Regions from separate parts of the Homo sapiens genome. Here all the other regions are linked to region 1. The links are contacts of gene promoters, found by promoter capture Hi-C in human tissues and cell types (Jung and others, 2019). All regions are on one chromosome and are shown on one strand. The core of a region is centred on a gene start or on the middle of the fragment in contact, and the rest is flanking DNA. Distances in the headings are between cores, read along the strand shown.

What was found. Contacts are between HindIII fragments. The study calls those that stand out against the background at their distance.
Region 2: the fragment with the promoter of CSPG5 here is called in contact with a fragment that was not itself captured in region 1 in 2 of the 25 tissues and cell types used here (bladder and lymphoblastoid cells).
Region 3: the fragment with the promoter of FBXW12 here is called in contact with a fragment that was not itself captured in region 1 in 1 of the 25 tissues and cell types used here (dorsolateral prefrontal cortex).

The regions. Positions count from the first base shown.
Region 1 is chr3:47,936,865-47,939,630 of GRCh38, reverse strand. All of the region lies in intron 3 of MAP4 (microtubule associated protein 4), which reads left to right. Among named protein-coding and RNA genes, the nearest start is that of MAP4, 78 kb to the left of the region's middle. RefSeq lists a silencer at 486-686. The HindIII fragment of the contact is 4,708 bases long and covers 1-2,766 here.
Region 2 is chr3:47,577,572-47,580,290 of GRCh38, reverse strand. It overlaps CSPG5 (chondroitin sulfate proteoglycan 5), which reads left to right and starts at 1,426. Exons shown (of 5, transcript NM_006574.4): 1 at 1,426-1,694; 2 at 2,363-2,719. The coding sequence starts at 1,598. RefSeq lists an enhancer at 97-801 and silencers at 1,926-1,975, 2,016-2,075, 2,126-2,215. The HindIII fragment of the contact is 21,614 bases long and covers 1-2,719 here.
Region 3 is chr3:48,370,336-48,373,468 of GRCh38, reverse strand. It overlaps FBXW12 (F-box and WD repeat domain containing 12), which reads right to left and starts at 1,250. Exons shown (of 11, transcript NM_207102.2): 1 at 1,149-1,250; 2 at 612-785; 3 at 124-161. The coding sequence starts at 701. The HindIII fragment of the contact is 16,322 bases long and covers 1-3,133 here.

The sequences.
Region 1 (2,766 bases), core at 210-2,709:
GGCTATTGTTTAAATTATTTTGGAATTCCTTATGCTTTTTTAAAAAAAAACATTATGTCACCAACCTTATGCTCTTTATAATAAATGCAAATCACTTTCCAAGAAGTTTGGTGTATAATGTGAATTTAACTTACATCATTTAGCCCAAATAATGATCTTGTGATAATTTGATAGCAACTTATTTATTGAATACTATTCTGTCTCATGCAGTTAGCTAGGCATTGTGAGGAAATAAAAGTAGTAAAAGCACAGTATTTTCTTTTTAAACATTAATGAGTTCACTTACTAACATGTAAAATAATGAAAATTTTAATGATAAATAGAATACTTAAAGGCTTTTTAATTTTTTAAAAAAAGACTAACAGGAAAACATGTGCTTAAGGACTAAATTCTTTCCTAGTAACAGTGAATGGTAAAAGAGCTAAGTAGTGGAAAATGAGCATTAAAGTCATCAGAGAGGTTCTGTGGAAGCTATGAGGCCCAAGTGGTGGCTTTGGAATTGGATCAGGGAGGAGACATTTCAAGCAGGGGATCAGTGATCTCATGAGCAAAGGCACAGGGGCAGAGTGGAGCACAGGCTCTAGCAGGAGCCATGAGGGGACAGCATACTTACTGCATGACTTTCCTGTTGGAGTAGTAGGGAACAAGCCTGGGATGGGTTCATTTGATGGGTAAGGAAGGCTTTAGATTAGCATCTAACATTTGCCGTAATAATGTTTTGTGTTGTTGAAGCCCTAAACACATCGTCTTTATAAGCTTTGAAATAGATGGATAGGTGCACCTTCTCTAAATAGGATGTGACTTGAAGAATGTTTTTTACTTAACCATAATTTTAGAACTGAACAAGTATCCTTAGAGGTCATTACTGTGACTAAGAGAGATGAAAGGGCTGTCCCAAATTTACATGGTTAGCCTGTGGCAAAGCCAGGGTTAAGAACTCAAATATGGGCCTGGTATAGAGGCTCATGCATGTAATCCTAGCACTTTGGGAGGTCAAATCCGGAGGATTGCTTGAGCCCAGTTGTTCAACGCCAGCCTGGGCAATGTATGGAGACCCTGTCTCTACCCCCAAAATAATAACAATAATAAATTAGAAGGGCATAGTGGCACACATCTGTGTCCTTAGCTACTGGAGAAGCTGAGAGGGGAGGATTGCTTGAGCCCAGGAAGTTGAGGCCGCAGTGAGCTGTGATTGCGCCACTATACCTGGGAGACAGTCAGACCTTGTCTCAATTAACAATTCCCTTTTTTCTTTTTTTCCTTTGAGACAGAATCTCGCTCTGTCGCCCAGGCTGGGTGCAGTGGCACAGTCTCGGTTCACTGCAACCTCCACCTCCCAGGTTCAAACAATTCTCCTGTCTCAGCCTCCCGAGTAGGATTACAGGTGTGCGCCACCATGCGTGGCTAATTTTTGTATTTTTAGTAGAGACAGCGTTTCATCATGTTGGCCAGGCTGGTCTCTAACTCCTGACCTCAAGTGATCTGCCTGCCTCTGCCTTCCCAAAGTGCTGGGATTACAGGCATGAGCCACCACACCCAGCAGAGATCTTGTCTCAATAAAATAAAAGTAAGAACTCAAATATGTCTGCTGGTGCCCAGCTGTTCTCTCCCTCCTTTCCCTCTATAGATTTTTTAGAATATTTAATAATAATAATAAAAGAAGAAAAATGGCTGGGTGCAGTGGTTCATGCCTGTAATCCCAGCACTTTGGGAGACTGAGGCGGGCGGATCACCTGAGGTCAGGAGTTCGAGACCATCCTGGCCAACATGGTGAAACCTCGTCTCTACTAAAAATACAAAAATTAGCCGGGCATGGTGGCAGGCGCCTGTAATCCCAGCTACTCAGGAGGCTGAGGCAGGAGAATCGCTTGAACCCGGGAGGCAGAGGTTGCAGTGAGCTGAGATTGTGCTATCGCGCTCCAGCCTGGGGGACAAGAGTGAGACTTCGTCTCAAAAAAAAAAAAAAAAAAAAAAGAAGAAGAAAAAGGAAAAGCTGTTCTTGAAGGTAGCCAAAGGTTCTGAGATTGATTCCTACCTTCAACCTGAGAACATCAGAAACATCTTTCTCCTATAATTTTCTGATTAATTTCACTGCAGTAATCCAGAATGGGGTTGTTTTATTACATTTGTGTTTTGTGATTCAAGAACTAAGACAAATATATTAATCCTATGAAAAAACATATTGCTTTTAATATTTTTACTAATTTAAAAAGGCGTTTATCCAAGTTTCATCACCTTTTCTTCCCCTCTGCTCAGTGTATATGCCACTTGTGAACCTTCCCGAGGATGCTGTGGTTTGTTCTTTAATTCATCGTCATTTTTCTGGCTTAGACAAGTAATGAGTACTTTCATCTACTTAAATGACCAAGTATTTCATCTGTCTAATAACTGCTGAGTCTTATTTGTAAGTTATGTTTTACCAGATTTTTGAGAATTATAAAGATGAATGGATAAGTCAAAAGTCTCAGAATTAATTTTAAAATTAAAATGGGCTTCAGAAATTATGTAGCACAATTTTTTTTTTTAATTCTGGATGAGTAGTGTAGCTCTAACAGTCTTAAGGTCACACCCAAAGTTAAGTGGCAGAGTCAAGATTAGAACCTGGGTCTCCTGATTCTGTTTTCTTTCTTTTCTTTTTTTTTTTTTTTTTGAGACGGAGTTTCGCTCTTGTCACCCAAGCCGGAGTGCAGTGGCGCGATCTTGGCTCACTGCAACCTCCACCTCCCGGGTTCAAGCAGTTCTCTTGCCTCAGCCTCCCGAGTAGCT
Region 2 (2,719 bases), core at 177-2,676, 360 kb after region 1:
TGATATGGAGCCTCCCTCTGTTACCAGCCCTGTGCACTCAAGTGCCTTGCAGTCCAGTGAGGAATAACTGTAGATAAGATGAGATGATGGGCATTAAGTGTAACTGCTGAGAAGCCTTCATAGAGGGAAAGGTGATAAGAACTGAGTTTTTCTGGCATGAGGAGTTTACCAGGCAGGAGAGGTGGAGACGCTAGGCTAGGCAAATAGGCTGCAGCCATAGTTCTGCTGAGAAACAGGTTTTGAACCAAGGCAACTCCATCTGGAGATATGTATCAGAAAGATTAGGAGATAGAATCTCCATCTTGGTCACTTATTTGGTCTTCTAAGACAGCAATGGGACCGTCTCTTAAATACTGGAGTTGTCCTATCTCCTTGGGCTGATACCCTGAACTGTCATTTGGGTGAGTAACACATTAAGGGGTAGACGGTCGGTTTGGGGGAATAAACTAAGTAACTAGGTTGCGGTTCCTCCTGCCGACTAAGCAGACCTCCTGGTGCGTGGTCTTGGGTTGCCCTGTGAGCCCTGAAGCTGTGAATGGGCCCCACAGATCACTCTAAAGCCAAGCATCCATGTGTGCCCGGCTGGGGATCTAGACCCCCCTGGTCTACCCAGGAACCTGAGTTTTGGTGGTCTGAGACACCTGGGGGACGACGTATCCCGGAGAAGGGACCAGGATTAAAGGCCGCTCCCCAGGCTGCCCGGAGACTAGAAGGAAGGCGAGGTAGCCGCAGTCCCAGGGAGGGTCTTACCCCTTGCTCCCGGGATGCGTTATGGCGGGCCTGGCTGTGCGAGATCTAGGCTAGTGGCTTTGGCTGCGAACGGATTAGATCTGATCCGATTAGAGCCTGGGCGGTCGGCTTCGCCCCCTTGCCAGGCTCTGCCAACGCCCGCCCCTCCCTCGTGGAGACCCGGAGACCTCCCTGAGAGCCTTCCCGCCCGGAACACGGGATTGGTGCAGAATCCGAGAGGCTCCATGCGCCCCGGGCCTGGCTTGTTTCCACAGTGGGGGCTCGTGCTTCCGCCCCCTGCGGCTCTTCTGGACCCCGCCCCGACCCTGCGGGTAACTGGGCCCGCGACGTCCCCGCCTCCGTGCTTGCCGCGTGGCGGGTGGGTTCCTCCGGGTCGGGGCCCCGTGCCGCCTGTTCACCTGGGGCGGGACCGTGGCCCCATCCCACAGGTCTCCCGCCCGTGCACCTGCCGCCTAACGCCGCGCGCCGCGCCGTGCGCCTGCCTCGCGCTCCCCGTCCGCCTGCCCCGCACTCCCCGTCCGTGTGTCTCCTAGTCCCCAGCGAGGGGTCTGTCTGTTCCCCTGGCAGGCTGACCAAGGGGCCGGCGTCACCGCTACGTGCGGCGGGGCCGGCGCGGCGGGCGGGGTGAGGGCGGCGCTGAGCGCAGCGGCGGCAGCGGCGGCGCGGGAGGCGGGGAGGCGCGGCGCGCCGGGGACAGCGGCGGACGGCGGCGGCGGCGGCATGCGGCTCCTCGCGCTGCCCATCGTGGGCTGAGGCGGCCGCAGAACCGGCGGGAGGCGCGGCGGCCGGGCGAGCCGAGGGCGCAGCCAGCCGGGCGGACCGCGGACAGCGGTCGGGGCGCCGCGCCATGGGGCGAGCCGGGGGCGGGGGCCCGGGCCGGGGGCCGCCGCCACTGCTGCTGTTTCTGGGGGCCGCGCTGGTCCTGGCCTCTGGGGCCGTGCCGGGTAGGTATGACTGCGCCCGGGACCCCCGCGGCCCTCGTGCCCCACCCAGGGCAGGGGTCCCGCTGGCGGCGGGGACAGGTGGAGCTGTGAGCTGTGGCAAGGGGGCGGGGCACCGCCTGGCCGCGGCCGGGCGGCGGAATGGTCCCAGGAGGTGGTGGGGGTCCGGGAAAGGCCGACCCGCGTGGGGGCCGACCCCGGTTGGGGTAGCCGGGACCCAAGCGCGCGGGCCGCGGTGCGGACTGGGGGCGGGGCCGGGGGCGGGGCCGGGGCGGGGCCGGGGCGGGGCCTGAGGGTGAGACTTCGGGGCGGGACCTGGAGCTGAGGGCGGGAGCCAGTGGACGCGGCTCAGGGTGGGTTCCCGAGGGTGAGACTTATGGGTGGGCCGAGCTGGGGGCCGCCCTGGCCTGGCTCTTCAGACGGCGGGGCAGGTCGGGCGGGGCCGAGCCGCGAGGCGTTGGGCGGGGTGTGATCCTCGTCTTGGGGGCAGACTCCGGGACGGGGCTTAGAGGTACCGGGTGGCTGGGGTCACACTGGGGCGGTGGGGTCTGAGGGTGGCGAGGTCTGGGTTGACCAGGTCTAGGCGAGCGGGCCTGACCGGGGCGGGCCGGGGCTCCAGGGCTCCTCAGCGCGCCGCCCTGACGTCCCGCCCCTTGCCCTCCCGCCCGCAGCGCGTGAGGCGGGCAGCGCGGTTGAGGCCGAAGAGCTGGTGAAGGGCAGCCCGGCGTGGGAGCCGCCTGCCAACGACACGCGGGAAGAAGCCGGCCCACCAGCGGCTGGGGAAGATGAGGCGTCGTGGACGGCGCCCGGTGGCGAGCTGGCCGGGCCAGAAGAGGTGCTGCAGGAGTCGGCTGCGGTGACCGGCACCGCCTGGCTGGAAGCTGACAGCCCAGGCCTGGGAGGAGTGACCGCAGAGGCGGGCAGCGGCGATGCCCAGGCCCTTCCAGCTACGCTCCAGGCTCCCCACGAGGTCCTCGGGCAGTCAATCATGCCCCCTGCCATTCCTGAGGCTACAGAGGCCAGCGGGC
Region 3 (3,133 bases), core at 1-2,500, 430 kb before region 1:
TACTCACACTAACTTTCCTGTGTATATCTCACAACACAGCCACACAGGCCTTGGGACACAGCATGGGTGCGCAGTCAGATGATCTCCTCTCCCCTTCCCTCCTTGCCCTTTCCCTTCCCTTACCTCCACAGGTAATCACTGTCTGCAATCCTATTCCAATGCTATGGGAGAGAAAGGAAGAGACAAGCAGGCAATCAGTTACATCAGAGAGCAAGGGTAATCCTCTGCTATTATTTGTTCTGGGAGCTGGGCCCGCACAGGTTAATCAGATGGGATTCCAGCTCTCAAAGCACTCTCAGTGTGGGGAGATAAGGAAATGGTAACAACAGAGACCTATCACTGCTAATACAGGCACTGGGTATTCCCATGAATTCACAGGAAGAAGTGTTGATTTCCTAGGGCTTGAAATGGGAGCCTCAAGGACTGTTTAGTCAGCACAACTCCTGGATATCAGCTTGTCCTTTTCGTTTAACAGAATATGAGGCCCTCAGTATGAAGAATGCTAACCCCCAAAGCCTCAGTGTAACCCTCTGCTATTCTGCAAAGTGGTGCTCAAACTGGTCGAGAGAAGCAGCGGGCTTGGGGGGCAGTGGGAGGTGGAAGGCCTTTACCTTGTTCACCTGGGAAACCTGCAGCAAGCCGAACAGGTCCAGGAAAGAGAAGATTCGCTTCAAAGCTAAGTCAGGCAATCGGATCTCCATTTCATGCGGCCTGAACCCACATCCACTTTCCTTTCTCCTCTCCGGGCTGCTCTGAATTTATAGGCTTTGCCAAAGTCTGCAGCACTTGTAAAGATTTTCACCCATGCCCATCTGTGTGCGGTAGAAACAAGCTGCAGGTGTGCAGACTCCCGGGCTGACCTCCACCCCGGCCTCTCCCCTGGGGCCTGATCCACACAGCTGGCAGGCATCCCTACCTAAACCCACTTGTTAGTGCTGTTCATTGTTTAGAGGAGCTCAGCAACACCTGTGCGCTGTGAGCTGGAGGTGCAGAACCTGGGGCAGCCCCAGTTGCAGATGAAGTTGTCAGAACCCTTTAGGAAATGTCACCGAGTGCACTCACTTTGATCAGATCTGAGTGTCTCTATGACTCTATTTAAGTTCCAAACTCCTGGAATTGGAGTCTGCTTGCCCTGTGTCTGTGCCTACCTTGGGATCTTGAATCTGGTGAGTGGGGCTCATCTCTCAGCGCCAGCATGGCCTCTGGGTTTCTACCTTCTCGCATTTAACTTTGCAGTGGAGGAGAAAGAACGTGCCAAGCTGGCTTCTCCACAGAGGTCCGCCCAAAGGGAGCAGGCCTTGTCTGGGATGGCTCTCCCAGCTGGTGGCTTTCCCTGGGATGTGACGCTTTCCCACAGTTACAGATCTCCCAAGAACCTGACAACTCATTCTGGGATTTTCTAAAGACCGTGTCATAGCCTGGGTGTTTGTGTCCTCTCAAAATTCCTACGTTGAAATTCTAACCCTTGGTGTGATTGGAGGTGGGGGGCCTTTGGGAGGTAAGTGGGTCACAGGCAGAGTCCTTATGATGGGACCAGTGACCTTATAAAAGAGACCCCAGAACGCTCTCTAGCCCTGTTCATATCATGCGAGGACATGAGAAGGTGTCAGCTGCAACCTGGAAGAAGGCCCACACCAGAACCTGACCGTGCTGACAGGTGACTCTTGGACTTCTCTCCTCCAAAATTGTGAGAAATAAATTTGTTTGTAAGCCACCCAGTCTATGGTACTTTGCTGCAGCATAAGACAGGGGTCCCTCTGTGAGGCTCAGTGGCCAACCCTTCTTAAAACTGCTGCCTCCAGGCAGACACACGGGAGTGGTTGTCGGGAGTCCCATTTATGATACAGTAGTAAGAGAGAGGAAAAATACAAATTGACATGGTGAGGAAATAAAAAGGAAAAGCAAAGACCAAGAAGCACCTAGAGGGGCGTGGGGAAAGGCGAGTCAAGGGGTGTGTGGAGAGGAGTGAGAAAAATACAAGGGTAAAAGATTTGTATTCCATAAATAGGAAATAATGCAGAGAGAGCCAGAGCCGTGGAAGGACACAGGAAGACAGAAAGCTTGGAACGGACTCTATTGTAGAGGAACAGAATTAATGCAAAGATATAGAAGGCTGAGAAATAAAACACTTTAAAATATGACAAGGGAAGAGAAGAAACAGTAAAATAAAGGATATTTTAAAAGTATTAAAGCACAAATATTATAAAATACACAGATAGGAAATATAACTGTAAGTGGACTGAGACAGAGTAGGAATAAAATGGAAAAGAGGACAGATGAGAAAGAGGCAAACATAAGGAAACTGAAGCAAATTGCCGAATGAGTGAATGAATGAATTTGAAATAGAGGAACAGAGGCCAGGCACAGTGGCTCATGCCCGTAATCCCAGCACTTGGGGAGGCCGAGGCGGGTGGATCACCAGGTCAGGAGTTTGAGACCAGCTTGGCCAACATAGTGAAACCCTGTCTCTACTAAAAATACAACAAATTAGCTGGGCGTGGTGGCGGGTGCCTGTAATCCCAGCTACTTGGGAGGCTGAGGCAGGAGAATTGCTTGAAGCTGGGAGGTGGAGGTTGCAGTGAGCTGAGATTGCGCTACTGCACTCCAGCCTGGGCGACAGTGCGAGACTCCATCTCAACAACAACAACAAAAAAAATAGAGGAACAGGAAGGTGTGTTGGGGGGTGGTGGTGGCGGGGTGCTACCAGAAAAGCGGCAGAGAAAGACACATTGCAACAATAGATGAAGACAAATCTAAATGTCACAAGAGTTAAGAGATGTAAAATTTGAGAGATGTGAAATGGTAACTGCGTAATAGTCTAAGCAAAAGATAAGATGCAGGTGAGAGAATGGTCCGGACATTGTCTAGGAGAAAGTAGATTAAAGCAGGCAGCTGGGGAAACCTGAGAAGAGGGATCCATAAGGAGTTGGGCAGCCTGAGAGTAGGACAGAGAGGGAGGGACGACACAGCATGGGAAGTAAAGGGGGCGTAGCAAGGGGAGAAGTAACAGCACACCTTTCATGGCGCCTTCTGCAGGCAAGGCACCCGTCTAAACAATTTACAGGGGCTCATCTATTTAATCCTCACAACGGCTAGATGAGGTAAGTCCTATTACTGGCCACCTTGCCAGGGT